Linked DNA regions of Homo sapiens: all the other regions are linked to region 1. The links are contacts of gene promoters, found by promoter capture Hi-C in blood cells and fetal thymus (Javierre and others, 2016). All regions are on one chromosome and are shown on one strand. Each heading gives the region's core, a stretch centred on a gene start or on the middle of the fragment in contact. The rest is flanking DNA. Distances are from core to core; before and after follow the strand shown. Region 1 holds the start of CD300LD (CD300 molecule like family member d). Region 2 overlaps KIF19 (kinesin family member 19). Region 3 has its middle 26 kb from the start of GPR142. Region 4 overlaps NHERF1 (NHERF family PDZ scaffold protein 1). Region 5 overlaps GPRC5C (G protein-coupled receptor class C group 5 member C).

What was found. The method cuts DNA at HindIII sites, captures the fragments that hold promoters and counts their contacts. A CHiCAGO score of 5 or more calls a contact.
Region 2: a contact is called between a fragment that was not itself captured here and the fragment with the promoter of CD300LD in region 1, in 1 of 17 cell types (M0 macrophages). The highest score is 5.4, in M0 macrophages.
Region 3: a contact is called between a fragment that was not itself captured here and the fragment with the promoter of CD300LD in region 1, in 4 of 17 cell types (monocytes, M2 macrophages, M1 macrophages and 1 more). The highest score is 10.0, in monocytes.
Region 4: a contact is called between a fragment that was not itself captured here and the fragment with the promoter of CD300LD in region 1, in 1 of 17 cell types (monocytes). The highest score is 6.1, in monocytes.
Region 5: a fragment that was not itself captured here is called in contact with the fragment with the promoter of CD300LD in region 1 in 4 of 17 cell types (monocytes, M2 macrophages, megakaryocytes and 1 more); the score reaches 6.8 in monocytes.

What each region holds. Positions count from the first base shown.
Region 1 is chr17:74,588,849-74,594,989 of GRCh38, forward strand. It overlaps CD300LD (CD300 molecule like family member d), which reads right to left and starts at 3,435. Exons shown (of 4, transcript NM_001115152.2): 1 at 3,315-3,435; 2 at 1. The coding sequence starts at 3,354. It overlaps CD300LD-AS1 (CD300LD antisense RNA 1), which reads left to right. Exons shown (of 3, transcript NR_171003.1): 2 at 1,671-1,897; 3 at 3,136-5,361. RefSeq lists an enhancer at 3,339-3,468. The HindIII fragment of the contact is 5,067 bases long and covers 2,875-6,141 here.
Region 2 is chr17:74,345,168-74,351,308 of GRCh38, forward strand. KIF19 (kinesin family member 19) reads left to right here. Exons shown (of 20, transcript NM_153209.4): 8 at 1,211-1,357; 9 at 2,610-2,732; 10 at 4,017-4,182; 11 at 5,234-5,408; 12 at 5,540-5,738. Among named protein-coding and RNA genes, the nearest start is that of BTBD17, 14 kb to the right of the region's middle. The HindIII fragment of the contact is 2,750 bases long and covers 320-3,069 here.
Region 3 is chr17:74,390,697-74,396,837 of GRCh38, forward strand. No RefSeq gene overlaps it. Among named protein-coding and RNA genes, the nearest start is that of GPR142, 26 kb to the left of the region's middle. RefSeq lists enhancers at 3,447-3,947, 3,948-4,448. The HindIII fragment of the contact is 3,051 bases long and covers 1,656-4,706 here.
Region 4 is chr17:74,765,446-74,771,586 of GRCh38, forward strand. It overlaps NHERF1 (NHERF family PDZ scaffold protein 1), which reads left to right. Exons shown (of 6, transcript NM_004252.5): 4 at 1,491-1,531; 5 at 2,702-2,791; 6 at 3,023-3,908. The coding sequence ends at 3,211. It overlaps NAT9 (N-acetyltransferase 9), which reads right to left. Exons shown (of 7, transcript NM_015654.5): 7 at 5,084-6,141. Among named protein-coding and RNA genes, the nearest start is that of NAT9, 7.8 kb to the right of the region's middle. RefSeq lists a silencer at 5,460-5,559. The HindIII fragment of the contact is 7,456 bases long and covers 572-6,141 here.
Region 5 is chr17:74,435,479-74,441,619 of GRCh38, forward strand. It overlaps GPRC5C (G protein-coupled receptor class C group 5 member C), which reads left to right. Exons shown (of 4, transcript NM_022036.4): 2 at 4,267-5,349. The coding sequence starts at 4,299. Among named protein-coding and RNA genes, the nearest start is that of GPRC5C, 6.5 kb to the left of the region's middle. The HindIII fragment of the contact is 430 bases long and covers 1,967-2,396 here.

The sequences.
Region 1 (6,141 bases), core at 2,185-4,684:
CCTGGAAAACGCAAATTCATGTGTCGTCACCTCCCACCCCAAGGGCAGGGCCACAGCCTCGTGCATTGGGAGTAGCAGCCAAATCCAACTGCCTTATAACAGTCAAGGAAGCAATACATTTTCCTCAAGACAAATCTTTGTCCTTCAAAATTCCACTGGGTCAAAGTCACCAGGAAAATCACTGAAGAGCACAACTGCAGATCCCCAAAGAAACACAAATGTTGGCATTGAGCAATAATAGCTTCCTGCAGTTCACCCCTCTCTCTTTCCCTATGGCCAGCAAATCTTTATATTCCAAGGAATGCTCTTTGGCAACCATCTTTGTGTTATACTGGTCTGATGGGGAGGAAATGGCAGAAGGCCCTTTTCCAGAAGAATGATTGCTGCCTTGATGCTTGGCTGTTCCTAGTGGTTCTAATGGTTTCTGGTGGCTCTGCTGTAGTTAATCACCCTGAATGAATCCCTTTGAAATCAACCAAATAGTGATGCCAACTGGTCTCTATCTGCTATGGGATCCACATCACACAGATCTCCATTTCGCCATACAGTGTTATAAATTCCACTTCCAAAATTCCTAGGAAAAGCTAACTTTTAAGATAAACACAAGTAAAGGTTAGGTATAAACAGAGCAGCACCCATTCAACACCCTTCTGCATCTTATAAGTTCTTCTCTAAACATAATGGACATGATTCAAGTCAGTTAAAGGGTGAGGAACGGGCATACCTAATTAGCTCCACTTTTCAAACAATTTGATCCAGGACAAGACTAGTCTCCATGAACTTGTCAGCCTAATCTTTCACTTGAAAACAATTCAAAACAGTGGAAATACCTTAAGTGAGAGCTTTGCCAGAAATTCTTTAAATTCAACTGACCTAAAGGGAGACCCATCTAAAGAAACGATTGATTTTGATGATTTATGCACTGGCAATAAACCATAGCTGTGATTAGTGCAGCATAAACTTGAGATGGAACTAGAAGCACATTGGAGCACTTGAAGAAGCCCTGGGGGCAATTCCTGTGGCAGGAGAGAGGTTGTCTCTGAAACGCCAAGAGACACCCAAGGTCGTGGGTAAGAGCTCAGGCTGTGCCAGAGTGCTTGGGTTTGAATCCTGGCTCTACCACTGATAAGTTTTGTGAACCTGGGCAAATTAACCTCTCTGTGTGATACGGTTTGTCTGTGTCCTCACCCAAATCTCATCTTGAATTGTAGCTCCCATAATTTCCACATGTTGTGGGGGGCACCAGTTGGGAGTTAATTGAATCATGGGGCGGTTTCCCCCACATTGTTCTCGTGGTAGTGAATAAGTCTCATGAGAGCTGATGGTTTTATAATGGGAAACCTCTTTCACTTGGCTCTCATTCTCTCTCTTGCCTGCTGCCATATAATACATGCCTTTCACCTTCCACCATGATTGTGAGGCCTCCCCAGTCATGTGGAACTGTGAGTCCATTAAACCTCTTTTTCTGTGTAATTTACTCAGTCTCGGGTATGTCCTTATCAGCAGCGTGAAAATGGACTAATACACTGTGACTTCGTTTTCTATAAGTGGGAATAGTAATGGCATCTACCTCTATGTTACTATATTATGTTTGTTATTATTATTATTATTATTATTACCCCTGGATGAATGAAAACTTTAGACTTCATTGGAATGTCTTGAAAAACCAGGGTCACCATGGTGGGAGCGGAAGACAATTTCACCATAAACAGGCAGAGCTCCACAACCCAAGGAATTCCTGGAACAGAAATTGGACTCCATGCCCAAATCTGCTTTCTATGGCATCTGAAGGGAACTAAGAAACTACACACGACCTCCTGGGGAAAGATGGGTATAGGGGCTTCATTTGTTCACTCTGAAAAAAGTTCTACATCAGAATGGAAAGACAACAATTAAGGTAAATATTTAAAGAAAAACTACATCTGGAAGTTATTTATAAGAAATAAGAGCTGGGTGTGGTAGCTCACACTTGTAATATAACAACTTTGGGAGGCTGAGGCAGGAGAATCGCGTGAGCCCTGGAGCTTGAGAGCAGCCCTGGCAACATAGCGAGACTAAATAAATAAATAAATATTAGCTGGGTGTCGCACCACATGCCTGTAGTCCCAGCTACTCACTCAGGAGGCTGAGGTGGGAGGATGGCTTGAGCCTGGGAGGTCAAGGCTGCAGTGAACCCTGATCCCAGCACTGTACTCCAGATTGGGTGACAGAGCACACCCTGTCTCAGAAGGAAGGAAAGGAAGGAGAATATATCTGAAAATTGTTTACAGAATATAAATTTGAAGCCAGGCATGGTGGCTCACACCTATAATCCCAGCACTTTGGGAGGCCAAAGTGGGAGGATCACTTGAGCCCAGGAGTTTGAGACCAGCCTGGGCATGAAAGTGAGTCCTCATCTCTACAAAAAAAAAAAAAATAAAAATAATAATAATAATAATAATAATCTATTTTAAAAGAAAATAAATTTGAGATTGGAAGGAAAAATTTTCTTACAAAGCTTGATCTGAGTATAGATAATATGAGAAGCACATAGATTTGTTACATTTTAACAGAAATGAAAACACTACGTATCAAAATTTGTTGACATGACAGCCAAAGCTGTACTCAAATATAAATCCTTGGGAAAAAGGTTTGATGCTTCCTCAAAAAGTTAAACATAGAATTAACATAGGATTCAGCCATTTTACCCCTAGATATATACCCAAGAGAACTGAAAACATATCTCCATACAAAACTGTGCTATGAAAGTTCATAACATTATTACTAACAATTTTTAAAAGGTAGAAACAACCCTAAGGTTCATTGACAAATGACTGGAGAAACCAAATGTGGTATATCCACTGTGAAATACTATGCAGCCATGAAAAAGAATGAAGCTTTGATTTGTGCTACAACACAAAGTAACCTTGAAACATCATGCTAAGTGAAAGAAGCACTCCAGCCTGGGTGACAGAGCGAGACACCAGCTCAAAAAAAAAAAAAAAAAAAAGTTCTTCAAGAATGGACTCACTCATTAGTTCCTTCCTTCATTGATATCTGTTCATTCATCTGTTTATATGGAACAGTCAGGGTTGAGAACCACTGTTCCAACAAGAAGCTATACTTGTTTTGTTTTGTGTGTGTTTGTTTCTGCAGCATCTAACACAGAACCTGTCAGATAACAAAAACTTGATTGCTATTTAATGAATATGGGCATGGATGGATGAATTGGCGCTGTCATTTTCCCTGACATGTCTCCTTCCTGAGAACAGAGCGTCTCTGTCTCCAAGCCAGCCGCTGTCATTCCAGTGCCTTAAAGCTCCAGCCACACTCACCTGGGAGGATGAGAAGCAGCAGAGATGGGGACAGCCACATGGTCCTGTCTCCTCTCCTCTCCTTGGTGATCACAGGTGTCTGGTGCCCTTCAGGGACTTGAATCCAAGCTCGGAAGTCAACACCGCAAACCTACTCGAATCTCCTTCAAGTCTCTTGCTCACTTCCTGTTACATCTGTAGCTACTTCTCTTTTTACATATTAGGAGAAAAGAGGTGTCATTCTTTGAAAAGACTAAGGTACAGTGTATGTTGCAAGGTGTGCCCAAACTTTTGTGCATGTGGAAAAGAAAATGTGTCCGGGACTGGTCAGGTTTGCACGGGAGTGCACGTAGGAGCCAAGGAGCAGGAGGAGCCAGGAGGAACCCAAGCATTGAGGAGCTGCGGGATCTACTGCCTGGAGGAGAGGACGGACAAGGCCAGCCATGAGGAGTGCAGGGAGAGGAGCACTTTGGGAAGACCACAGTGCACAGGACTCACACCCAGCCTTGCTGGAGAAAGCCCATGCCCCAGGCTTCTTCCAGGCAGCCCCACTGTAAGACATCTCATTGCCTCTTCCTGCCCTGGGCTGTCTGACCCACTGCCCCTTCCCCCAGGAACACTTCCACTGGGATCATGAGTCACTCTGAAGCCACTCTGAAATCACTCTGAAGCCAAAGCTGGGCTCAGTGGGGAAGGTCAGGAATGGAGAAATTGCCTTTTCTCGTTAGCCTCCTCTTGCCCTGATTTCATCCTCCCTATCCCTGCACACTTTCCCCTGGCTGCTGTTGTAATCTACTTGTTCTGCTGACGCCCGAACTGACTTCTTTCCCGGTCTCTCCCCACTTTCTTTAGATGGTCCCTTCCCTCTTTCTCTCCCTTTCCCTCCTGAATCGATTCATTTTTTCTCTCCTGTTTTATATTTTCCATATCTGTGGGCTTTGTTCTACATTTGGGGAGCTTTTTATATTGTTTATTTCATGCTTGTACTTTCCCTTCCAATCCTTGGATCAAATATTGATTTTAGAGACTGTATTTTTATTTCGAAAAGTTTTTTTGGTTCTTTGATTACTGATGTTTTCAAACTCTCTTCTGTTCCTTGAACTATATCCCTCCACTCAGTGGTCACATCTTTGTTTTGTTGTCTGCTTCTTCTATATTATGAGCCTTCCTCAAGTGTCTGCTGATTCTTGGTTATCCAATCATAGTTGAGAACAAGATAAAGTGTAGCTAACTGAGACCTCAGAGTATGTAGGAGTAAATAGTATATAAAATAGCTCTGGTGGCTCATGCCTGTAATCCAGCACTTTGGGAGGCCAAGGCGGACAGACCACCTGAGGTCAGGAGTTCGAAACCAGCCTGGCCAACATGGAGAAACCCCATCTCTACTAAAAATACAAAAATTAGCCAGGTGGTGGCACACGCCTGTAATCCCAGCTACTCAGGAGGCTGAGGCAGGAGAATCGCCTGAACCTGGGAGGTGGAGATTGCAGTGAGCCCAGATTGCACCACTGCTCTCTAGCCTGGGCAAAAAAACTAGTTCCAAAAAAGACACTTGTACACGCATGTTTATAGCAGCACAATTTGCGATTGAAAACATAGGGAACCAGCCTAAATGCCCATCAAGCAATGAGTGGATAAAGACAATGCGGTGTACATATACACCATGGAATACTATTCAGCCACAAAAAGGAACAAAATAATGGCATTCACAGCAACCTGGATGGAGTTGGAGATCATTATTCTAAGTGAAATAACTCAGGAATGGAGAACCAAATATTGTACATCCTCACTTATAAGTGGGAGCTGCGCTATGAAGATACAAAGGCACAAGAATGATACAATGGATTTTGGGGACTTAGGGGAAAGGATGCAGGGGATGAGGGATAAAAAACCATACATTGGGTACAGTGTACACTGCTCCAGTGAAGGGTGCACCAAAATCTCAGAAGTCACTGCTAAAGACCTTATCCTTGTAACCAAAAGCCATCTGCTCCCCAAAAACTATTGAAATAAAATAAAATATAAAAAGAAAGAGAAAGAAAAGAAAATAGTTCCAATTTATCATGCCAAATTGTTTGAACCCTTGATTCTTTCTTGACTTACAAGCTACACTTTAAGGGGCGTGGGCAGAGAGCGGTCTTCTAAACTCTAGACTGAAGAGGATTGAAGTTGAGCTCCAGCATTCTCACTGCCATGGCTTCCCAGATATTACATTAAAATAAAGAATTCCTGCTCTTTTGCCTGGGGGTCAGTGCCTGCCTCCAGGCATTTGGGGTATATGTAAAGATGTACATGTTTGGCCGGGCACAGTGGCTCACATCTATAATCCCAGCACTTTGGGGGGTCGAGGCGCGTGGATCACCTGAGGTCAGGAGTTCAAGACCAGCCTGGCCAACATAGTGAAACCCCGTCTCTACCAAAAAATACAAAAATTAGCCCAGCATGGCAGCGCACGCCTGTAATTCCAGCTACTTGGGAGGCTGAGGCAGGAGAATCACTTGAACCTGGGAGGCGGATGTTGCAGTGAGCCGAGATCACACCATTGCACTTCAGCCGGGGTGACAGAGTGAGACTCCATCTCAAAAACAAAACAAAACAAAACAAAAACATGTTTGTGGAACTGCTCCATGAACAAAGCTCCAATTGGGTCCCCAGTCTCCATTCCCACTTCTGACCCACACTCTTCATCACACCTGCTGGCTCTGAGTTCAAAGCCTCCCCTGAGTTTTATCAGGTGGGTCAATTAGAAGTAGGAGTTGCAAAATGCAATTTATTTTATCTGCCCTTTACTCTGAGGGTACACCCAATATGCCCCAGACCACCATACCCCTAATCTTTTGACACGGCA
Region 2 (6,141 bases), core at 445-2,944, 250 kb before region 1:
GTTAAGGAAGTGAGGAACGTTCCAGAGGAGCAGGGTTGGGGGGAATGGGGTAGGGCATCCCGGGAAGAGCCAAGGAGCTCTGGTGGGAAGGGGAAGGAGGATGGGGGTTTCTCCAGGGAAGGAGACTGTGGCTGCCCTAGGGGAGGGATCCAGGAAGACAATGAATGGGCCCAAAGGAGTAGTTGGAGGCAGGGAGAGACAAGCATCCCCTGACTGGGAGGACTTGACACATCCTGGGAGAGGACCCAGCCAGTCACATCACAAAGAGGAGAAGGTCCCCGTCACCCATTTCTGGCAGCATCTTTGTCCCCTCTCATGAAGCTTGGCTTTGTGGCAGCACCTTTGTCCCCTCCCATGAAGTCCTGCTTGCCGAGCTCTGCAGCCTTGGTGGCAGCACCACCCAGCTGGTGTAGGTCTGGGCTCCCTCGTGCAGGCAATCTTGGGGGTTTTATGGTCACCTGAGCAATGAGGCTGGGTGATGTCACCATTGCTGGCACTGGAACAAATGCAAGGGAAATGACAGTGCCAGAAAGAATGAGCAGTCTTTTGTCTTTGAACATCTGGGGTCGGATCCGAACAGGGCAGGTTCAAGAAACTTACCCCTCCCTTCCAGTAAAGCCTGGGGGGCTTCCTGGAAGGCACACAGGGGAGAGGCCTGGGAGGAGAGAGAGTGCCCTTCAGCCACTGGAGCGAGCTGGTCCCGGCTTCTCCAGGCTGGGCAGAGCCACCTCCTAAGGGGAGCTGCAGGCAGGGCCTCCTCGGCTTTGACATGCTCCTGCAGGCCCAAGAAAAGGAGAAGAACCTGCCCTCCACCACCATGCACATGTGCACGCACTTTCCTCCTTGCTCCCTGGAGCACCCTCTGGAGCACCAGTGGTCCTGCCGGCTCCCAGCTGAGCTGCCTGGAAAGCAACCTCCCTCCCATCTCATCCATGGCACTGTGTGTCAGGCCGTGCCACGGCACCTGCCCTGAGGAGAACCGGCCATCTCAGCCCTCCTCAGAAGCTGTCAGCCCATCACTCTTGTTCAGAGGCCTCTGGGTCTCTTAACCTTCTCCAATGCCCTCAGTGGCCTTGGCAGGAGGACGGCCACAAGGTCCTTGGGGGTTTATTACCCAGGATCACCAGGTCATTCATTGGTGGGGTGGCTGGGGAGAAACCCAGTCCCCTGCCTCATCAGGCCACACGTGTGCCCTTTGCTCGCCCCCTAGACACAGAATCGTGGGCAGCGTATGAAGGAGGGGGCCCACATCAACCGCTCACTGCTGGCACTGGGCAACTGCATCAACGCCCTGAGCGACAAGGGTAGCAACAAGTACATCAACTATCGCGACAGCAAGCTCACCCGGCTCCTGAAGGTACCAGCCACAGCTGGGCCTGGGCACTGGGCACCAAGGGTGAGGCTGCCAGATTAAACAAATGAAAATACAGGGCACCCAGCTAAATTCCAACCTCAGGATACACAGCAAAATTTATTTTAGCGTAAATATGTCCCATGAAATATTTGGGATATTCTTATGCTAAAACAAAGTAATTGCATATCTGAAATTCAAATTTAACTGGGTATCCTGTATTTTATCTGACGACCCTAACCAAAGGCTGGGCAATGGGAAGGAAAAGGAGCACGTGATACCCCCACCCAGGGCTGTGGGTCAGAGCCGTCTAGATTTGGGGGTGCAGGTGGGCAGTCAGCCTCATGGCCCCACAGGTCAGCTGTTTGGGGGTGGCCTCCTTTGTGCAGGGGTGTCCTTGGCCTTAAATTATAGCAGCATCACTGAGCGCCCACTCCTGGCTGGTCTCTTGAATTCAGTACTTCACTCTATTAGCTCCTTAGATCTCGTCAACAACTCTATGAGTTTGAGGGATTACATTTGCAGATGAGGAAACTGAGGCACAACTCAGTTAGGTAATGTTCCTAAGGGCTCACACTAGTAAGTGCTGAAAGTAGGATCCAGTCAGAGGCCTCCCTGATCTAATATCAGAGTCACCGCTTACTTAACATTGCCAGCAGCTGCCGTCATGACTGCACCTAGAAGCCGGGGAGGTGGGGACAATTGCAAAAGGACTGCCCCCTTAAAAAGCAAGGAAAGCCGGGTGTGGTGGCTCACGCCTGGAATCCCAGCACTTTGGGAGGCCGAGGCAGGTGGATCACTTAAGGTCAGGAGTTCAAGACAAGCCTGGCCACCATGGTGAAACCCCATCTCTACTAAAAATACAAAAATTGCCCAGGCATGGTGGCAGACGCCTATAGTCCCAGCTACTCGAGAGGCTGAGGCACGAGAATTGCTTGGACCTGGGAGGTGGAGGTTGCAGTGAGCTGAGACAGCGCCACTGCACTCCAGCCTGGATGACAGATCGAGACCCTGTCTCAAAAAAAAAAAAAAAAGAACTAAAGAGGTGAATGAGCTTTATTAAGGTTACACAGCTGGTAATTGCTGGAGCAGGGCTTTCTTCCTCCCAAGCCTCACACCATATGACGCTCAGCAGCCGGGTCCCTTAAGTGTAAAGAGACAGAGAGATTGCACTCGCCAGGGAGGGCATCGTGAACAGCCTGGCAGGAGGAAGGCCTGAGGAGGCAGTCCCCACTGACCACAGCCACCTCCCATCCAGGACTCTCTGGGAGGAAACAGCCGCACAGTGATGATCGCTCACATCAGTCCTGCGAGCAGTGCCTTCGAGGAGTCCCGGAACACCCTGACCTACGCCGGCCGGGCCAAGAACATTAAGACTAGGGTGAGGGCCCCTGGACCGTCCACCAGGACACACCTTCCTGGGCTGAGATTCAAGCCCCCGGGCTGATCCCTGCCACCCCACTGCACTCTCTGGAACCAGCCACTGCTGCACTGGCCTCATTCCCTAGTTGATCGTCACCTGTACACTTTCCCTGCACCTCCAAACCCTGCTCCTCTGCCGGGAAGCCGACAGCTCCCAAGGGTCCCCGCTTCCTCCAGTCCCAGGACTGTGCTCCCCCTGCCTCATCCCCTCTTCTCTTCCCTTCCTCGTCTTCAGATGCTCATTTAGACCTTTGCATTTCCAAAGCACCTCTTCATGATGGTCATCACAGGAGGCAAGCTTCATTGAGCACTTGCTCTGAGCTGTTTCACATGCTACCTCCTTTGATCCTCAAAAAACAGCAGTATTATTGCGGTTCCCATGTACAGATTAGGACAGCAAGGCTTAAGGAAGTTAAGTGACTTCCCAGCTGGCCAGTGATGGCGCTGAGGATGGAAATGAGATCTGCCCCGTTTCCAAGTCCGTGTCCTCACCTGTCTGTAAGCATGTCGGAACCCTTGCCATCCGCTTAGAAATCCATTTCCACCTGTTCGTGTGTGGAGGAGTGGGAATGGATTCATGTATGATAGCATGTAGGGAACATTCTCCCAACACCTAACACTTGCCAGCTGCTGCCCTGAGGGCTGTAAGTTTTATTCCAACCCCTCAATGGGGGACGGGAGACACATTCTTGAAACAGCTCATTGATGGTTCAGAATATTCCTAATAGCAGGTAAATGATGCCAATGGTAGGTGCTGGGGCAAGACAGGAACAGGAGGTGGGGGTGGCCTGGTGGGGTCCAGTGGAACTCTCTGGAGACTGTGAGTGGGACCCTGAAGGCTGGGAGGACATTCCAGAAAGGTGGGAGCAGGGAGAGCACAGGTTCCAAAGGCAGGAAGGGGATGGCGTCTGTGGTGGGTATGGGGAGAGCAGGACAGGTCTTCAACTGGAGTGGGATGTTCATGCAGGAGCGGTGAGCCCAGAGAAAATCAGAGAGATGGGGGTGGCCCTTCAACAACGGGTGGAGGAATGAGGACGTTCCCCGCAGGCATTAGGAAGCCACTGAAGGTTGATGAGATCTAGCAGTGAGTGTGACAGGAGGTTGTGGAAGTGGAGGAAAGGAGGCCATTACTGTCACCCAGAAAGACTGGGGGAGGCAGGGGGAAGAAAGGCCCTGCAGGCAGGCCTCGGTGAGTGCACCTGGGGTGACTGCATCCCCTCCGCTCCATACGTGTTCCCTGCAGGTGAAGCAGAACCTCCTGAACGTCTCCTACCACATCGCCCAGTACACCAGCATCATCGCTGACCTGCGGGGCGAGATCCAGCGACTCAAGCGCAAGATTGATGAGCAGACTGGGCGGGGCCAGGCCCGGGGCCGGCAGGATCGGGGTGACATCCGCCACATCCAAGGTGCGCCTGTGGGTCTGTGTGAGTGGCAGCCCCCTCCGGCCAGCCTCACGTTGCTCTGGGATCAGGCCATGTTGTGTTCAAATCCAGAATCGGGCTCTTTCTGGCTGGGTGGTTGAGCTAGGCACTCACCAGCTCTGAGCCTCCTAGCATTCAGCTGTTAAATGGGGTTGTGATCTCTGCTTCAGACAGTTACCAGAGATCACAAGCCGATTTCCCAACCCCACCTTGGAAGAGTAGGTGGGATCCCACGAGGGAGAGGCACGTGAGCAATGAGCTGCGCAGGGCGCACACTAAGGGCTGTGGCGTAGGGCTGCGAGGTCATGCCTGCACCCCCGGAATGGGCTCCGTTTCCTTGTAGACCTGCATATTTGCTATGATGGTTTTCCAACAGACAGTAAAGCTTTTTTTAAAAAAAAATTTACTAATATAAAGAGAGAGGCAGACAGTAAAGATTTTTTTTTTTTTTTGAGACAGAGTCTTGCTCTGTTGCCCAGGCTGGAGTGCAGTGGCATGATCTAGGCTTACTGCAACCTCTGCCTCCCGGGTTCAAGCGATTCTTCTGCCTCAGCCTCCCAAGTAGCTGGGATTACAGGTGCCCGCCACCACACCTGGCTAATTTTTGTATTTTTAGTAGAGACGAGGTTTCACCATGTTGGCCAGGCTGGTCTCGAACTCCCGACCTCAGGTGATCTGCCTGCCTAGGCCTCCCAAAGTGCTGGGATTACAGGTGTAAGCTACTGTGCCTGGCCACAGACGGTAGTTTCTAGGGGCACCTTTTTATAGTTGGCACAGAGGTGCTGTAAGGGTTAGCAGGAGCCCAGTTCATACCAAGGAGCTGGGAATTGCTTTTGGGCAACAGCTTGAAGACTCAATGTGGGAGTGGGGTCTGGGAGGATGTAGTAATCTAGGGGGTCTTCCTGGAGGAAGCAGTTGGACAGGAAGTGGGAGCACTGAGTTGGGAAGAAAAGGAGGGGAGGGGCCCAGGTGGGCCCAGGCTTTGCTAGCTGAACTTGCCGCCTCCTCTACCTTGCCCACCCTCACCCATCGGCAGCTGAGGTCCAGCTGCACAGCGGGCAGGGTGAGAAGGCTGGCATGGGACAGCTTCGGGAGCAGCTCGCCAGCGCCTTCCAGGAGCAGATGGATGTGCGGAGGCGCCTGCTGGAGCTGGAGAACCGCGCCATGGAGGTCCAGATTGACACCTCCCGACACCTGCTCACCATCGCCGGGTAAGCCCCCCTCCCAGGACCCTCCAGGCCCCACCCCTGTGCCTGGGACAGAGGAGCACGACCTGTGGCTGTACAGTGTGCCCTGCCCCCATGGCCTGAATGCCCTGTCTCTCTGGGTGGGGCTGCGGCAGCTGGAAGCATGAGAAGTCCCGCCGGGCCCTCAAATGGCGGGAGGAGCAGCGAAAGGAGTGCTACGCTAAGGACGACAGCGAGAAGGACTCAGACACAGGTGATGACCAACCAGACATCCTGGAGCCACCCGAGGTGGCCGCAGCCCGGGAGAGCATTGCAGCCCTGGTGGACGAGCAGAAGCAACTGCGCAAGCAGAAGGTGTCCAGGGTTTGGGGGGACAAGGAGAGTGGGTTTAGGGGACAGGGTGAGCAGGTTTGAGAGGCAAGGCGGAGGGGCCAGGGTGGGGGTAGCCGTGAGACTTGGGAACTCAGGCCACAAATCCTGTGTGACTTTGCTAAGCTCTTTAACTTCTCTATGCGTCACATTCCCCACCTGTAAAATGGGAGCAGTCCATGGTGCAGCCCTCATGGGGTTGCTGGGAAGATTACATAAATGCCTGGCACATACCAAGGACTCAAAAAATGGTAACTAATGTTATAATTAGGGTTTTTCAGGCTGGGCACAGTGACTCACACCTGTAATCTCAGCACGTTGGGAAGTTGAGGTAGGCAGATCACTTGAGGCCAGGAGTTCGAGACCAGCCTGGCCAACATGGCGAAAT
Region 3 (6,141 bases), core at 1,931-4,430, 200 kb before region 1:
CCTCCACATCCCACCTCAGCCTCCTGAATAGCTGGGACTCCAGGCACACGCCCCCGCACCTGGCGAATTTTTAAATTTTGGTAGCAACTTGGGGTCTCACTATGTTGCCCAGGCTGGCCTCGAACTCTTGGGCTCCCAAAGTGCTGGGATTCCAGGTGAGAGACACCGCACTGGCCACCAGGCTGTATTTCTTTTGGGTTCAGAGTGCTCCGCACAGTCTTGAGCCCCCTCTTCAGGATGTACGGTCTCCATGGGGCTCTGAGGGTGTTTGATGAAATGTACAGGAAGCCATTGGCTTGGGCTGAGCTCCTGCACGAGGCCCAGCAGACCAAACCGAAATGGAATCATTCATGCTGAAGTTCTGCGTCACCCAGCTGACACTAAGTTGTTTATCTGACATTCTGAGACATCAGGAGAGTGAGGGATAATAGCCAGATCCCCAAACAGGCCAGTTTTAGCCAGCATGATAAGGAAGTCCCCTCTGCTTTAATCTTACAAGGAAAATAACTTTGAAATCTGATGTTTGTTCTGTTTCTGCTTTCAAAGCCAACCTCTACTGCTCAGCTCAATCCGAACACTCATTCTATAGTGTAAGGTGAGATATTGCCCAATTCTAGAATCCAAGTAAAAGCCAATTAAGATCTTTAAATTTGTTGTAATTTTGTCTTTTGACAAGAGAAAGGAGCTTTCAGGGGGAGGGGCCATTTCCTCTCTGTCTCTAGATCTCCTGTGTATATGGGAAGAGCTGGGACCAGGCCCAGCAATTACCTCACCATGGTTGGGTGCAACCAAGTGGGGCAACTCTTTGGCCAGAAAGCAAAAGTCTTTTTAGCTTCAATGTAGGCCATTCTGGGTCCCAGACCCACAGCTTTGGACATTATGGGAATCAGAATTCTTAGATGGCTTCACAATCTCTGTCCCTGGGTGTGTTACTCCCTTGATGATATTATATTATATGGCAGAAGGGATCTGCAGTGTAATTAACATTACCAATCAGTTGATCTCCAAGTAGGTCAGTTATCTGAGTGGGCTGGATCTAATCCCACGAGCTTATTAAAAGCAGAGAGTTTCTCCAATAGCAGAAGGGAAGTCAGAGAGATTCTAAGCACAAGAAGAATGGGATGCACGTTCACTGGCTTTAAAGATGCAGGAAGCATTACATGGAAAGGACTTGTGAACAGCCCCAAGGAGCTCAGAGAGACGCCCAGCCAACGGCCAGCAAGAAAACAGGAACCTCAGTCCTGCAACCACAAGGAAGTGGGTTCTGTCAACAACCTAAGTGAACCTGGAAGTCGATTCCTCCCTAGAGCCTCTGGATGAGAGCCCAGGCTGACCAACACCTTGATTTTGGCTTCCTGACATCCTAAGCAGAGATCCAGTGAAGCCTGCCCCAGATGGCTAACCTACAGAACCGTGAGCAAATAAATGGCTGCTAAATTTGTGGCAATTTGTTATGCAGAAATAATACCTAATACAGGTGCCTGCACAGTGAAGGTTCCAGGGCATGGATGTTGATCCCAGGGGAGGAGGCAAATGAGGCCTTCTGATTTCTCCCACAGCCTTGAAATTGCAGCCTCACCCTGCACTCTGGCTGTGCCCCTCCTCCACAGAGAACCGTCCACATCTTTGCTCGCACGGTTTCTGCCAGAGGCCCAAGCTTCTGTGCTCAGGCTGGGAAGTTTGGGCATGAACTATGTACAGATAAACCAATTGCAGGGGAATCGCACAGCTTCTTATTATCATTATCCAGGTTTCTTATTAGTTTTCTTCTCTGTTAATTTTCCCCTGTATTTCTGCCCAGTTCTGATGCTGTTGGATCTTCCAATCCTTGGCAAAAGGAAAATCCTTTTTAGCAAGTTACTCAGGCAGGACTCCCTAATTAAAGACCCAGAGTGGCCAGGCGCGGTGGCTCGTGCGTGTAATCCCAGCATTTTGGGATGCCAAGGCGGGTGGATAGCTTGAGCCTAGGAGTTTGAGACGAACCTGGGCAACATAGGGAGACCCTGTCTCTACAAAATATAAAAATAAATTAGCTGGTCCTGGTGGCATGCACCTGTAGTCCCAGCTCTTGGGAGGCTGAGGTGGAAGGGTGGCTTGAGCACAAGAAGTTGAGGCTACAGTGCACTATGATCATGCCACTGCACTCCCGCCTGGGTGACAGAGTGAGACCCTGTCTCAAAAACAGAAACTCAAAATGACTTGCTCTCTCTCCCGGTCTTGTGACCTAAATGGCTTGATTTAGGACGTGTGGCAGAGATGGTTAGCTGTCTACCAAAATCTGCACACCCCTTTCATAGCACAGTATTGTCACTAAGAGCAGAGACTACATTTCCCAGCTGCCTTTGCAACTGGGTGTGTCCACGTGACAAATTCCTACCAGTAGAATGTGAGCAGAAAAGCTGTGCAGCCCCTCTGAGCCAAGGCATCAGAAGCAGGTGTGCTTCCTCCATCACTTCCCTCCTCTTTGCCAGCTGGATATAGGTACCAACGAGACCCTGGGGAAGGGGAGAGCCCTGAGATGGAAGGAGCCTGGGTCCCTGAATCACCACGTGGAGGAAAGCCACTGACCAATCAGGAACGCTCGTCTTGGTCTGTTATGTGACTAAGAAATAAATTCCTAAGGTATTTGAGCTATTATACATTTGGGAGTCTATCTGTGACTGCTTTTTAGCTTACCCTTCATAATACACATCCCTCTTTGGCCCCCAGTGTAAATCAAGTTGCACAAGGTGCTGACTAAACTCCCAGGATGAAAACCTTCAAATATCCCTGTACCTCACTTTCCTCGGCTGGCTCCCATCCCTGTCTTGGTTCACACTGCTTGCTCCAAAGTCTGGCTGACTCAGCTGGCCTGGGCCATCATCCATCTGCTGTCAAAGAGTGCCTGGCTCACAGCAAAAAGAACATTTATTCCCCCAAAACATAGGGTTCTTTTTTTCAGCAAAGGTGGTGCAGCAATATATTTGGAGACGCAGACTGCGAGTCAGCACATGCTCCCGGTTCCCTTGGGACACAGTCAGGGAGCTCATGTCTTCAGCCCCAGCTCCCCCAGCAAGAGCCTCCAGTGGTCGGAGGAGAGGAGAGAAGAGCAGTGGAGAGGGGGAGGAAAGCAGAAAGAGGTGACAATTCTCTCAGAAAGCAATTAAGCATTTCGTGGTGGCCCCAGGGACAACCTCAACTTTTTGTGTTTTTCCCCCAGAGAGACTGAAGAACTGGGGGGAGGAGAGCATCCCTAGCTACAGTTATTGAAAACTCTGCTTGGTAATGTGGCATTGAGAGACTCTGAGAAGCTGGCTTCAGGAAGGTGGCCCCACACTGCCTGCCCACCACCTGGGATGCCACCTGCCGCAACGGTGTTGGTCTCTGGTCAGGGCTGGGGTAAAGATCAGCAGTGGCTCATCTTCCCTCTGACACAGCAGCATGGGACACCTGGATGGAACTGAAATGGGGTCCCAGATACAGCAAACCTCTCTCCCTGTCCACTTCTGAAGTCCAGCTCGGGATTGCCGGCCCCAGCAGAGCAGGCAGGGGAGCTTTGACTGTGGATGGTGTTTGAGCCTAGACTAGGCCCCAGGGTCTTCAATGAAGCTCACAGATGGAAAAGCCCAGCAACCAGGGGTCAGAGGCCCTGGAAGTTAGAAAATTACAAGTCCCCATCCTTCAAGGAGCTCCAGGATGACTCTGCCTCAGCAATTTCCAGTGCAAATTTACTTTTTGTTTGAGTCAGGAAATAACAGGCTGCAGACTCCCTAGGGGCCCAGGAATCCAGCCACCAGCTTCTCCTGGCTTCTCTCATCCTTCCGTGAGCAAGACTCAGCCAGACGTACAGGGTGGCCCCGAGCTTAAATTACAACCACCTGACCAGAGCTGCCCCGCAGATGCCCAGACCCTGCTTAGAGAGGGTCCCTGTGGAGAGAGGGGCTTCCCCAGGCCTCTGGCTGGTCGCATGCGTGGCCTGAATTCTCCATGCACAGGCAAGAGGCTGTCTCTACTTCCCACCCTAGGCAACTCTTAGCACTAACCCTGAAGTGACGATGAGCCACGGAGCCAGGGTGGAAGCTACACAGTGCGTCTCACGTGACTTCCAGTGAGAGCTGTTCCCAAGTTTACCATCCCTCGGCGGTGGCTCACCACCCTCTCTGCCCAAAGTCCTCTCAATAGCCTAAGTCTCTTCCCTCCACTCAGCCTCATTGCTCTCATTTTGTCACTTAGAGCTTAGTGACATTTTGCTTTCTTCCAAATCCTCCTTCTTGCAGTCTAGCTGGGTCCTTTCATGCCTAGTTTACAAAGATGTCTGGCCTGATCCCTATCTGCCAGCCCCTATCCCTCCCAGGGGGACCAGGAAGCCTGGGTTTGACAGGTGCAATGCACAGGTGCCGGGCGCCCACTGGGAGTGCAGGAGGCCAAGGTCTTCCCAGGACTGGCAGCTCAGATGGCCCAGGCAGAAATAACCTGAGCCTGCTGCCCTTTCCTTCTTGGGAGTGACTCAGCGAGAAGCCGGAAGATAGAAACACAAATCTGGTCCTGGATCTTGCAGAGCCAGTCACAGGCAAGGCCACAGCCTTAAGGCTGTGTACGGAGAGGACCTGGAGCCAGCCATAGGGCTGGACGCTGAAAAGACGCTCAACCTCATTTAGCAGGAGACAAGTGCAAATGAAAACTATACCCAGACCCCATTTTCCACAGAGCAGATTGGCAGAGATGCAAGCTTTCAGGACACACTCACTTGGCAAGAAGGGGAGGCCATTCTCCCGCTTTGCTAGCAGGCTGTAAAATGATACAATCTCCTCGGAAGGCAAGTTGGCAATATCTATCCACTAAGTGCACAAATTCTTTGACCCAGCGATTCTACCTGTACAAACGGAACACCTAGCTATGCGTGCACATTTATGACATGACCCAGGCAGCATTGTTTGTAATAATGACAAAGGATTGGAGGCTCCTACATAGGTGACTGGTTCCACACTTGCGGTGTCCCCATGCGATGGATCACAGTAGGCAGAACAGATAATTGGAACCATTGATGGACGAGTATGGAACCGTGTCCTAGATACATTGGAAAGAGGAAAAACAAAACAAAAGAAATTGAGGAGCAGAACGGGCTGTGGGGCTGGCTGGTTTCAATTCTCGATGAATGGATGAAATGGCACACTCCCATTTGGGTAAAGGAGGGTAACAGAGAAGCAATGTCTATGCTGGTCTAATGTGTGTGCTAAGGAATATCTCCGGATGGATACCCCAGATTGGTTTCATTAGCTATACAGAGGCAAGCATATACCTTTTTGTAACTTGAGCATTTTAAAATATGTTAGCTGGGCCGGGTGGCACGTGCCTGTAGTCCCAGCTACTTGGAAGGCTGAGGCAGAAGAATCACTCGAAGCCTGGAATTCAAGGCTACAGTGAGCCATGATGGGGTCTATGAATAGCCACTGCATTCCAGCCTAGGCAACACAGTGAGACCCTCATCTCTAAAAACAATAAAAATTCAAAAAATTTTTTTGAACTAGGCAAACATGTTACTTATTTTAAAAAAATAAACAGTTTAAAAGGTGAGGCCAGGCATGGTGGCACACGCTTGTAATCCCAGCACTTTGGGAGGCCGAGGCAAGCAGATCATGAGGTCAAGAGATCGAGACCATCCTGGCCAACATGGTGAAACCCCGTATCTACTAAAAATACAAAAATTAGCTGGGCATGGTGGCACTTGTCTGTAGTCCCAGCTACTTGGGAGGCTGAGGCAGGAGAATCGCTTGAACCCGGGAGGCGGAGGTTGCAGTGAGCCGAGATCGCGCCACCGCACTCCAGCCTGGCAACAGGGTGAGGCTCTGTCTCAAAAAAAAAAAAAAAAAATGGTGAACCCCTGGCTCGGTAATGGAATAAAATGACACCAGTACTTGAGAGGCAAGCAAGTTCCAGGATAGAACGAGGTGGTGGAGGGAAGCGATCATTCCATTTTACATTCATATTTTGCAAACAGTTTCTCCTTTTCTGTTGCTGCTTTCAATCCAGAGGCAGTCCTTTCTTTTCAGATGAAGAAATGGAGGCTCAGAGAGGGGAGGTGACTTTGTGGAAGTCACACAGCAAGTGGCTGAGCCAAGACTCACAACCAGGTATTTTTGTTTTGTTTTGTTTTGTTTTGTT
Region 4 (6,141 bases), core at 3,050-5,549, 180 kb after region 1:
GATGGGGTTTCACTATGTTGGCCAGGATGGTCTCGATCTCTTGACCTTGTGATCCGCCCACCTCGGCCTCCCAAAGTACTGCGATTACAAGTGTGAGCCACCGCGCCTGGCCTTTTTTTTTTTTTTTCCGGACACAGTCTCTGTCACCCAGGCTAGAGTGCAATGGCACAATCTTGGCTCACTGCAACCTCCACCTCCTGGGTTCAAGCAATTCTCCTGCCTCAGCCTCCTGAGTAGCTGGGATTACAGGCGCCTGCCACCATGCCCGGCTAATTTTTGTATTTTTAGTAGGGATAGGGTTTCGCCATGTTGGCCAGGCTGGTCTTGAACTCCTGACCTCAGGTGATCCGCCTGCCACAGTCTCCCAAAGTGCTGGGGTCCCAGTCATGAGCCACCGAGCCCAGACTATTTTCTCTTTCAGTTGAGGCAGGTACTAACTATAGTCTGGGGTGTGGTTCCAATTTTGGTGTCATCATCATCACCTGGGAAGCGTTTGGAAAATGTTGATTCTTAGGCCTGCCCACTAAACCAGAATCTGTGCTGCCAAGGTCCAGGAATCTGTACTTTAACAAGCTTCCCACGTAGGAGTTCCCAGGTAGGAATTCCCAGGTAGGAATTAGGCAGCCATCCTCGAATTTCATCCCCATCTGAGACAATACATTTTTTAAACACCTTGTGACCCATCAGTGCCTCATAAGATCAATTTAGTAGATAGAGACCAGCAGGTTTTTTGGTTTGTTTTTTTTGTTTTGTTTTGTTTTGTTTTGTTTTGCCAGAGTCTTGCTGTGTTGCCCAGGCTGGAGTGTAGTGGCGTGATCTCGGCTCACTGCAACCTCCACCTTCTGGGTTCAAACAATTTTCCCACCTCAGCCTCCCAAGTAGCTAGGATTACAGGCGTGTGCCACCATGCCCAGCTAATTTTCTTTTTGTCTTTTTTAGTAGAGACGGGGTTTCACCATGTTGGCCAGGCTGGTCTCAAACTCCTAACCTCAAGTGATCCAGGTGCCTCGGCCTCCCAAAGTGCTGGGATTACTGGTGTGAGCCACTATGCCTGGCCCAGACATTTTTTTGTTTTTTTTAATGAAATGAAATTAAAAATATCAAAGAACACTGTAGTAAGGGTGTTGCTTTGTGAAACTTTTATCACACAAAATCTTTGTGTGTGCTGAGTCATCAAAATGGCAAACGTAGGCCAGACATTTGCTCACACCTGTAATCCCAACACTTTGGGAGGCCAAGGTGGAAGGATTGCTTGGGGCTAGGAGTTTGAGACCATCCTGCATGACATGGCAAGGCCCCATCTCTATAAAAAAAAAATTTTTTTTAAATAAATAAGGCAAATGTATTCATGGTGGGTGGTAGTCAAAAAAGTTTGAGATGTTGACCCAGGGAACAAGATCTAATAATCTGCCCAAACCCAACTCCTACCTCCTCTCCACGCTCTATTCCATCCCCGTTCTGGACTCACCTCTGCTCTGTCCTTTGCCTAGGTCCCCTGCCTGTGCCCTTCACCAATGGGGAGATACAGAAGGTAAGGGCGGGTCCCCTGTCTCTTTGGATTTCAATCCTTGGGGTGCATGAGACAGATCAGAAGGTGCTGTGGTTGGTAGGATAGCCATCTGACTAAGGCCAAAACCCCAGGGTCCCCAGTTCCAGCTCCTTCTTCAGCTCCAAGCTATAGAACTGCCAGAACCCTCTTGGCCTCTGCCTGGGGCCAAAGCTGTCAGGAGGGAGCGGGCTGGCTGGGCCCCTCTGCAGCCCGCCATCCTGGGTGACAAGCCCCCGCCTCCAACTCCCCACCATACAGAAGGGGCCATTCTTCCCCCCAAGAACAGAGCTTCAGTGTCTGGCCACGGGCAGCCGGGCCCCTGCTACTTCTAGTCTGGGTTGGAAGAACAAAGCCCCTCCTCCCCCCTTCCCTGGGCAGAAGGGAAAGGGGGTGAGGCCCGGGGAAGAGATGGTGGGGCTGGGCGCCAGCTGAAGCCATGGAGGAACCCAGGAAGGGGCTGGGTGCCAAGCTGACGCCCCAGCCAAAGCCTTCGCTCTGGGACAGGCCGACTCAGTCAGGCCACAGAGCAGGAACTCTGCAGGGTCTGCTTAAAGGTTCCCCTTCCCTAGGAGCTCCTGCCAGGGTACTTGGCAAGGGGGAGGGCCCTTGGACCCAGCCCTCAACCTTCTTTCACCTCATCTTTGGATCTAGAACTTTCCATCCACCTTCTTCTTTCAAGGCCCTCCTTTGCTGCTTCAGGGTTAGGGTTTCAGGATTCCTGGGGTCAAATCCTGGCAAACAGTCAGGTGGACCACATGAGATTCAGGGAGCACCACATGGGCTCCCCATGCCCCCATGTGTCCCCACATTCCAAGAAGCCCCTCCCTGGTCACTGGCCCAAAAGGCAAGCCAGTACCTAAAAGCCACATTGGAGTGGCCCAGGGAGAGGGAGCGGTTCAGCTAATCCCATGATGGTCTGTTCCCATCCCATCCCTCCAGCCTGAGCAGTAGAACCAGCCTGCCCTCTGATCCCCAAAGGAATGTAAAAAGGAGCCCCAGCAGGCTCAGGAGGTGGGAACCAGGGGTGGGTGGCCAGGGCATCAGTGCTACCTCTTCTCAGTCTGAGGCCCCTACTTCCCCAGGAGCTCCCTCCCTCCTCAGGACCCCCTCACCCCATCCTCTGACAACCCACAACCCTCTCCTCTCTGCCAGGAGAACAGTCGTGAAGCCCTGGCAGAGGCAGCCTTGGAGAGCCCCAGGCCAGCCCTGGTGAGATCCGCCTCCAGTGACACCAGCGAGGAGGTAGGCCAGCCATGCGGGGGGTGGCAACTGGGTTACAGGAAGCCGATTCCCAGGCCCCACTTGTTCCTGGCACACCAGCCTGCCTTTGAGGTCACATGCTGAGCCGCATTCTGTTCTTGTGACCTGGCTTCCCTGGGCACGGCCCCAACGGAGCCACCTCACCAAGGCTGAGGACCAGGGAGCCTAATGAGGGACTGACTCCCAACTTCCTGCCCCCACTTCTCTTTACAGCTGAATTCCCAAGACAGCCCCCCAAAACAGGACTCCACAGCGCCCTCGTCTACCTCCTCCTCCGACCCCATCCTAGACTTCAACATCTCCCTGGCCATGGCCAAAGAGAGGGCCCACCAGAAACGCAGCAGCAAACGGGCCCCGCAGATGGACTGGAGCAAGAAAAACGAACTCTTCAGCAACCTCTGAGCGCCCTGCTGCCACCCAGTGACTGGCAGGGCCGAGCCAGCATTCCACCCCACCTTTTTCCTTCTCCCCAATTACTCCCCTGAATCAATGTACAAATCAGCACCCACATCCCCTTTCTTGACAAATGATTTTTCTAGAGAACTATGTTCTTCCCTGACTTTAGGGAAGGTGAATGTGTTCCCGTCCTCCCGCAGTCAGAAAGGAGACTCTGCCTCCCTCCTCCTCACTGAGTGCCTCATCCTACCGGGTGTCCCTTTGCCACCCTGCCTGGGACATCGCTGGAACCTGCACCATGCCAGGATCATGGGACCAGGCGAGAGGGCACCCTCCCTTCCTCCCCCATGTGATAAATGGGTCCAGGGCTGATCAAAGAACTCTGACTGCAGAACTGCCGCTCTCAGTGGACAGGGCATCTGTTACCCTGAGACCTGTGGCAGACACGTCTTGTTTTCATTTGATTTTTGTTAAGAGTGCAGTATTGCAGAGTCTAGAGGAATTTTTGTTTCCTTGATTAACATGATTTTCCTGGTTGTTACATCCAGGGCATGGCAGTGGCCTCAGCCTTAAACTTTTGTTCCTACTCCCACCCTCAGCGAACTGGGCAGCACGGGGAGGGTTTGGCTACCCCTGCCCATCCCTGAGCCAGGTACCACCATTGTAAGGAAACACTTTCAGAAATTCAGCTGGTTCCTCCAAACCCTTCAGCCTCCGTGTGTTCCTTGGAAGTTTTGTCCTCTGGCCTTGGACCCCTTATAGGTAGAAATTGAGAAATGGTAAGCCAAGGTGGTCTTTGGCTGGGAGGGTGGGGTACACTGGAGGGAGGGCCATCAAGGGCTCCCTGTGACCCCAAGCCTGGGTAGCTTTAGCTAGAGGGCCTAGCTGCAGTCCTGTAGGAAGGAAGATGCATGCACCCAGCCGGGTATTCAGCTTGGTGTGGTCAGTGTGCCTGTGTGCTGGGCTGCAAGCACCGATTGTGGGCTGGGGACCCCTTGTCTAACGGGGATATTTACAAGGGGAAGTGGGAGCTCAGACCAACGTTCTCAGAGGACTCTGGGAGGTTCCTTTAATTCCAGAAGCGTGGAAAGTGTGTCCCAGGATGGAGCTGGGTTTGGAATGTGAGGACTTGGCTTTACTCTTTCTGCCTATAGCCAGTGGGGTGCAGAATTCCCAGGGGCAGGCTGGGCTGGTGCCAGATCCTCTATCTTATCTGGCCATTGTGACCTGATTGGAGGGCAAGTGTCCAGTGCCAGGGGAAAACAAACCGGTCCACTGAGCCCGGGGACATGCTGTGTGGCTAGCTGGGGTGGAAGGGACTGTTCAAGGGCAAGGTGCCCTGCCCCCAACAAAAGACCCAGGTCCCTGATACCTTTGGCACCTGAAGCCTGATCTGGAGGTCCAGGAAGGTGGCTTGCAAGAGCTAGGCTGCAGAGCCGGGAGGTTCCGGGCAGGTGCTCAGGAGGAAGGTGCCCCCAGGCTAGTCTCCACCCAACCCAAAGGGACACCTCTCAGAAAATAGGCTCCTGGGCTGAGGGGAATGAGTAAAGCAGGTAGATCTGGAATCAGGGAGTGGACAGTGTCCCCCAGGCCAGTCACTATCTGGCCATCTCCTGCTCCTTGTCAGAGGAACCATCCAAAACCCTTACCACAGCAGTGCCCTGCTCAGCTGACCTGCCCCCACCCCACCCTTGCTTCTACCCTTTGGCCCCTGACAGATTCCCCTCCACAGGGGTCGTGGAGGGCCCCTCCCTATCTCACCTGCTGGGTGGGGAAGCCCTGGGGGACCTTTGACTCTTCATTAACCTGAAGACTGGTGGAAGGAATGGGTGGCCCCAAGGGAACTCTCATTGCTGAGGTACACATGGTACGAAGGGAGCCACGGCAAGCAACGCGTTCGTTTTATAATGTTTGTTTTATACTGAGGCATGTTTTCGGTTCCAGTTGTTCACATGCAGTCTGCTGTGAGACTCCAAGATCAAGGGTGCTGGGAGGCCTTAGGCAAGTCACCTTACTTATCTAAGACTGTTTCCCCACCTGGAAGATGCCCTACAAGCCTCCTGTGGCTGTGTTTAGAAAGCATGCCCGGCCTTTCTTGACAGCCAGCCACCCCAGATGATGGCAGGGCAAGGAAGACTGTTAGGAGTCAGAGTGCTCCCCTCAGGTGGAAGGAAACTGGGCCAACTCTACTTTGTAAGCCATAGGGTGCCAGGTAGCCCGGCCACCCTGAGCCTGTGCCTCCACTGCCCCCGCGTGGCCAGTCAGGTGCAGCTGCTCCCAGAGATGGAGGGTGAGGAACAGACGTGGGAGCACCAGAGGGACAGAGCTGATGGCCTGACGCTCTCTTCAGGAGGGCACCCCCAAGGGGCCTCTGCTTCCTCAGTGCCCCCTGAGCTTTATCAGCAGAGGGGTGTTTTCCAGCCACAAGGAGCTGTATCTAACACTAATGCCTTTAAACTCAAGACTGGCTCCAGGAGAGAGGAGGACGGACACTAGGTTGAGGGGCCAGGCCACACTCACTCTGGACCACCTGTTGTTCCCGGGTCAAGTTCCCAGGGTCACACCAGCCTGCCTCTGCAGGACAAGAGGACCAAGCTGCCCTTGAGTGGACACTGTGAGGCTGGGGCTCGTGGTAGCTCTTCACATGGACCAAACGGGAAAATCAGGAAAGCTGGTAGTGCCTGGAGCTTCACTCCCAGCCAGGGCAGCACCTCTGGCCTCTAAGGAGAAAGGCCTGTCCACTCCCATCCATGTTCCAGGTCCCCCTGCACCTCCAGCTCCCACCTTCATCCCGACATCTCCCATGGATCCCTGCCCTCCATTCCAGCTTCCTAGAGTCTGGGTCTGGGTTTGGCCGGGAGGGGAGAAGGGAACTGGCCCTGGCCCTGGAGTCTGCTCAGCCACACCACTAGCTGGAGGGAGGCCACAGCAAGCCC
Region 5 (6,141 bases), core at 932-3,431, 150 kb before region 1:
TACTCAGCAACTTACTAAAAGCAGCAGCCTGGCTGCTGGGCAGCAGCATGGTACCTGGATGCGGTGAGGGGCAGGTACAGGCTCCTCTCTCATTCCTTGAAAGTTTCTATATTGAGGGGGTTGGCAGGAGAAGCAAGACTTGAAGGGTCAGGTGCAGAAGGAAGTTGCTGGTCACCAACCACAAAATCAGGGGGAAACTGGAGGTGGGGGCTTAGGGACAGAGAGCTGTGAAGCTTTCCTGACCCTAGCCCAAGTGCCTGTGGGCTTCTTGGAGCCAGCAGGGTACAGGCAAGTATTTCTAGGGCAAGATGGATCAAGAAGAATGAGTGACATTGGTCCCTGGCTTGGTTTTCTGTAATGACATGCCTGTTAGATTTGAACTTGTAGTATGGGCTTTAGTATCCTTTTCCCCCACCTCCGCCATCCAACCAGTCCTTCGATTGTTTTTTGGAAAGGATCTTTCAGAGCTGGCCATTATGGCTTTACCTTTGGCCTTGACCTTTAAACTGGAATGAATGTGCCCCCCAACAAATCGATTGCCTGTGCATTTTTGCCAGACTCTTTTCCTAAAAGCGCAACCCTGGCTATGCCCCCATGATGCTAAAAGCAGCCTTCAGTGGCTGCCTGTTGCCTTTAGGATAATGCCCCCAGCCCCACCCCTGTAGCATTTCCAATGTGTCAGCCAGCAGCTGCAGCCTCCCTTTGCAGACTCAGCTGATACTTGGCAAACTGAATTCTTTTTTAACTTGCTCTGGACTTGGGCTCAAAGGGCTTTGATTCACACCATCTTTTCTGCCTTGCACGTCCCTCTCCTTGTTCCCTTCACCTGCTCAGTCCTTCCTCACATTCTTCAGGGCTTAGCTTTTGGGTGTCCCTGTCTCTTGGCAGTGTCTGGGACCTGGTATGTTTTTTTATTAGATTCTGAGTAAAACTCTGCGGAACAGTCTTTCTCTACTCTGCCTGTTTCTCTTCTGTGTTCCTGTAGCCCCTGTCTCTCTCCTGCAGGTAAATTCCGTTGTGTGGCCCTTAATCATATTCTTCCTTGTGTAATTTTTGTGAGTACCTACCTTATCTCTCTTGATAGATTTTAAATGCCATCAAGTCAGGGACTACGTTTGTTCATGTTTGTATTTTCCACAGCTCTGGGAACAACAGGGCCTTTCCTTCCCAGGCGCACAGTCAATATTTGCTGATTTGGAGTAATTGCCTGTTCTAAACTGGGCCCTGGCCGAGGGAGGTGGGGTGAAAAGCCCTTGAAAGTGCAGGTGTCCGGAGTCTAAGTGGCAGTTCTGAGGGTTCTCTTCCCTACGTCCAGCTTCAAGCCCAAGTTCTGGCTGGTTTGGCTGTGGAGCCCAAGATGAAGTTGAACATTTAGGATCCCACAGCTTGTTGTTATCCATAAATTATCTCCCAGGAGTGGGTCCATATTACGCCTTCCCTTTTTTGTTGTTGTTGTTGTTGTCGTTGTTGTTTTTGGTTTTTGAGATGGAGTCTCGCTCCGTCACCCAGGCTGGAGTGCAGTGGCGCAATCTCGGCTCACTGCAATCTTCTGCCTCCCAGGTTCAAGGGATTCTTCTGCCTCAGCCTCCTGAGTAGCTGGGATTACAGGCGCACGCCACCACACCTGGCTAATTTTTGTATTTTTAGTAGAGACGTGGTTTCAGCATGTTGGTCAGGCTGGTCTGGAACTCCTGACCTCGTGATCTGCCCGCCAAAAGTGCTGGGATTACAGCATGAGCCACCGCACCCAGCCTACTCCTTACCTCTTAGCCCTCTCTTACTCCTCTTTCCAGCACTTGTAAATAAAATGCAGTTGGTGCTTTATTGATTTACAAAGTCCCCTACAGAAGCTTATTTAAGTCCTGCATTAGAAGTAAAGAGAAACTAGCCATTAGAACGCCAGTTATTTAGGAAAACAACAGTACATTTACATGAGATAGTTAATTTTAAGAGTTAATCTTAAGCAAGCTTAATTGAAAGATGAGGTAGCTGAGATGGCTAAGACGACCTAAATATTTTCAAGTGGCATGGAGACTATTTGAAGGGACTTTGAAAATGGATCCTCTTTATTGTGTCCATTTCACTTAATTTTATGAGTTGCATTGCCCCTGATTTAGTAAGTGTTCTTTCACATAACAATTATGGACAGAATTTTTTTTTTTTTTTGCTTCTGTGTTGAAAAGAGGGACAATTTCTATCAACTGTGGGATTTAGGGCTTTTGTTTGCCTATTAGAAATTAAGTAGCCAGGAATGGTAGAAAACAGTAAGGAGGTAAACCATGTATAAACAACCTCACAATCCCCCTAAAAAAGGAAAAAGGGTGGCAGCCTCACAGAAGAGAGTTAGATAATGCCATTCCCCTGCCAGCCACTAGTGGTCACTGTCAGACCAGGAAAGCTTGGTTGCTGTTTTCCCAGAGAGTTCCTGATGAAGCTGGGTTACAACTAGTTATTTGAACACGTGGGGTGACTTAAATGTGGACTACCTGCATTCATAGAATTTTGAAACGTATAACCTGTTTCTTTAAGCATTTAAATTTTCTTTTTCTTTTCTTTTCTTTTCTTTCTTTTTTTTGGAAACAGTCTCGCTCTGTTGCCCAGGCTGCAGTGCAGTGGTGCAATCGCAGCTCACTGCAGCCTCGATCCCCTGGGCTCAGATGATCCTCTAACCTCAGCCTCCCAAGTAGCTCAGACTACAGGTGCATGCCACCACACTCTCTGCTAATTCATATATATATATATATATATATATATATATATATATATATATATATTTGTTGTTGTTGTTGTTGTTTGTTTTCATACAGAGTCTCACTCTATTGATCAGGTTGGAGTGCAGTGGCGCAGTCTTGGCTCACTGCAACTTCCACCTCCCGGGCTCAAGCAATTCTCCTGCCTCAGCCTCCTGAATAGCTGGTATTATAGGCGTGCACCTCCACGCCCGGCTAATTTTTGTATTTTTAGTAGAGACGGGGTTTCACCATTTTGGCCGGGCTGGTCTCGAACTCCTGACCTCAAGTGATCCACCAGTCTTGGCCTCCCAAAGTGCTGGGATTACAGGCGTGAGCCACTGCACCCAGCTGCTAATTTTTGTGTTTTTTATAGAGACGGGGTTTCACCATGTTGCCCAGGCTGGTCTCAAACTCCTGGACTCTAGCAATCTGTTCACCTTGACCTCCCAAAGTGCTGGGATTATAGGCATGAACCACCGTGCCCAGCAGCATTTAAATTTTCAGTGTTAGGTTTCCTCCAAGTACATTTAAAACTTTTGATTGGAAAAAAACTCATTGATTTGGTCTTTAATATTTCTTAACCTGTTAAATCCATTACCTCCACTTCACGTGGGAAAATCCAATTGGTATTGGGAGCAGGAGTTTGGTTTTCTTCTCTGGCACAGATCTGTGGCATTTGGTAGAGCGGCAGTCAGTAGATGGAGTGAAAATTACCTTGCTGGTGTTAATAAAAGCTAATTTTCTTGCCTTCTAGCTACAACGTCTTAAAGTCTTCTATTAAAGATTAATTCCTTTGGGTTTTGCATTGCCCTTGCCTGGTTCTTACTTTTAAAATGTTAATGCTCCGAAGGAAAATTTTTGCATTAAGTCATTAACTCCTTAGCTGGGGACTTCGTTTATTTCACCCTTGACTTCCGCTTCCGAGCTAGGCAAAAAATGGAGGATTCTGAACTGGAGACTTGGCACTAAAAGTGGGAAAATGACTGTCTCTTCATTTTTCCTGGCTGTTGGTTATGCCTGCTGCAGCTGCTTGTTAAGTCTATTGAATGAATGAATGAACACATAGCTGACTGGCTGTGGATTTAGGCCTCACAGGAATGGAGTTTAGGGGCATAGCAGCTGACCTCCTGAAGCCTGAAAGTCCCAGGGCAGAGAGGAGGTACTGGGTGGGTGGTATGCTTGGTCTTGACTTGTTCACAAGCCCCTTCATCCTCCACCGTGGCCGCCAGAGCTCAGGGAATATCTGAACCCAGGTTATGTTTGGTGGAAGGGAGGGAACTGAAAATTCAATGACAGGTTTTTCTTTTGCCATGGCTAGGAATAGGGCTGACAAATGGGCTTCATCTCATTTGCCTCTGTGGCCAGTTGAAATGCCTCTCAGGGGTTCTATGTTAAGAAGGATTCTGAGGTCCAGAGAGCCTCACGGTCAGCAGCTAGCACTATCTGCCTGGGTTTAGGTTGGGGGAAGCAGCACCATGTATATTGGAGTCTGATCTTGGAGGACTAATTTTGTCCCTTTTCCTTCTGTCTCTAGGGACCCAACCAGAGCCTGGCCTGGGAGCCAGGATGGCCATCCACAAAGCCTTGGTGATGTGCCTGGGACTGCCTCTCTTCCTGTTCCCAGGGGCCTGGGCCCAGGGCCATGTCCCACCCGGCTGCAGCCAAGGCCTCAACCCCCTGTACTACAACCTGTGTGACCGCTCTGGGGCGTGGGGCATCGTCCTGGAGGCCGTGGCTGGGGCGGGCATTGTCACCACGTTTGTGCTCACCATCATCCTGGTGGCCAGCCTCCCCTTTGTGCAGGACACCAAGAAACGGAGCCTGCTGGGGACCCAGGTATTCTTCCTTCTGGGGACCCTGGGCCTCTTCTGCCTCGTGTTTGCCTGTGTGGTGAAGCCCGACTTCTCCACCTGTGCCTCTCGGCGCTTCCTCTTTGGGGTTCTGTTCGCCATCTGCTTCTCTTGTCTGGCGGCTCACGTCTTTGCCCTCAACTTCCTGGCCCGGAAGAACCACGGGCCCCGGGGCTGGGTGATCTTCACTGTGGCTCTGCTGCTGACCCTGGTAGAGGTCATCATCAATACAGAGTGGCTGATCATCACCCTGGTTCGGGGCAGTGGCGAGGGCGGCCCTCAGGGCAACAGCAGCGCAGGCTGGGCCGTGGCCTCCCCCTGTGCCATCGCCAACATGGACTTTGTCATGGCACTCATCTACGTCATGCTGCTGCTGCTGGGTGCCTTCCTGGGGGCCTGGCCCGCCCTGTGTGGCCGCTACAAGCGCTGGCGTAAGCATGGGGTCTTTGTGCTCCTCACCACAGCCACCTCCGTTGCCATATGGGTGGTGTGGATCGTCATGTATACTTACGGCAACAAGCAGCACAACAGTCCCACCTGGGATGACCCCACGCTGGCCATCGCCCTCGCCGCCAATGCCTGGGCCTTCGTCCTCTTCTACGTCATCCCCGAGGTCTCCCAGGTGACCAAGTCCAGCCCAGAGCAAAGCTACCAGGGGGACATGTACCCCACCCGGGGCGTGGGCTATGAGACCATCCTGAAAGAGCAGAAGGGTCAGAGCATGTTCGTGGAGAACAAGGCCTTTTCCATGGATGAGCCGGTTGCAGGTGGGTCTCTGTGGATGCCCCCAGTGGCCCCTTTCTCCATCCCATGTCTTTTACTGCAGGACAGGGAGCCAGTCTCTTGAGCAAAATGGAAAGTTTTTGAGGTTTTCTGTAGTTTTCTGCCTAAGTGTCTCTAAATTCCATTTAATTTAAAGATTTTTTTTTTTCAGTTGGGCATGGTAGATCATGCCTGTAATCCTAGCACTTTGGGAGGCCAAGGCGGGTGGATCACTTGAGACGAGGAGTTCGAGACCAGCCTGATCCACATGGTGAAACCCCGTCTCTACTAGAAATCCAAAAAAATTAGCTGGGTGTGCTGGCTCATGCCTGTGATCTCAGCTACTCGGGAGGCTGAGGCGGGAGAATCACTTGAACCTGGGAGGCGGAGGTTGCAGTGAGCCAAAATCGAGCCACTACACTCCAGCCTGGGTGACAGAGCAAGACTCCATCTCAAAATAAATAAATAAATAAGATTTTTTTTCTATATTCATATAATTCATGCATACATTCTCACTGTAAAATTTCAAACATTACAGATAAAATGAAATTTTCCCCAGCTGCCTCCCCAGTCCTACCCGTCCCATCCTGTTCCATCCCCAGAAGTGACCACTATTGACTGATATAATATCTATGTGCCTTTGTTTCTCCATTTGTAAAATGGGGATAATGTCAGTACCTATTTCATAGGGTTCTTGTGAGGATTGAATTAATTAGTGCCGGCTGGGCGCCATGGCTCACACCTGTAATCCCAGCACTTTGGGAGGCTGAGGTGAGTGGAGCTTGAGCCTAGGAGTT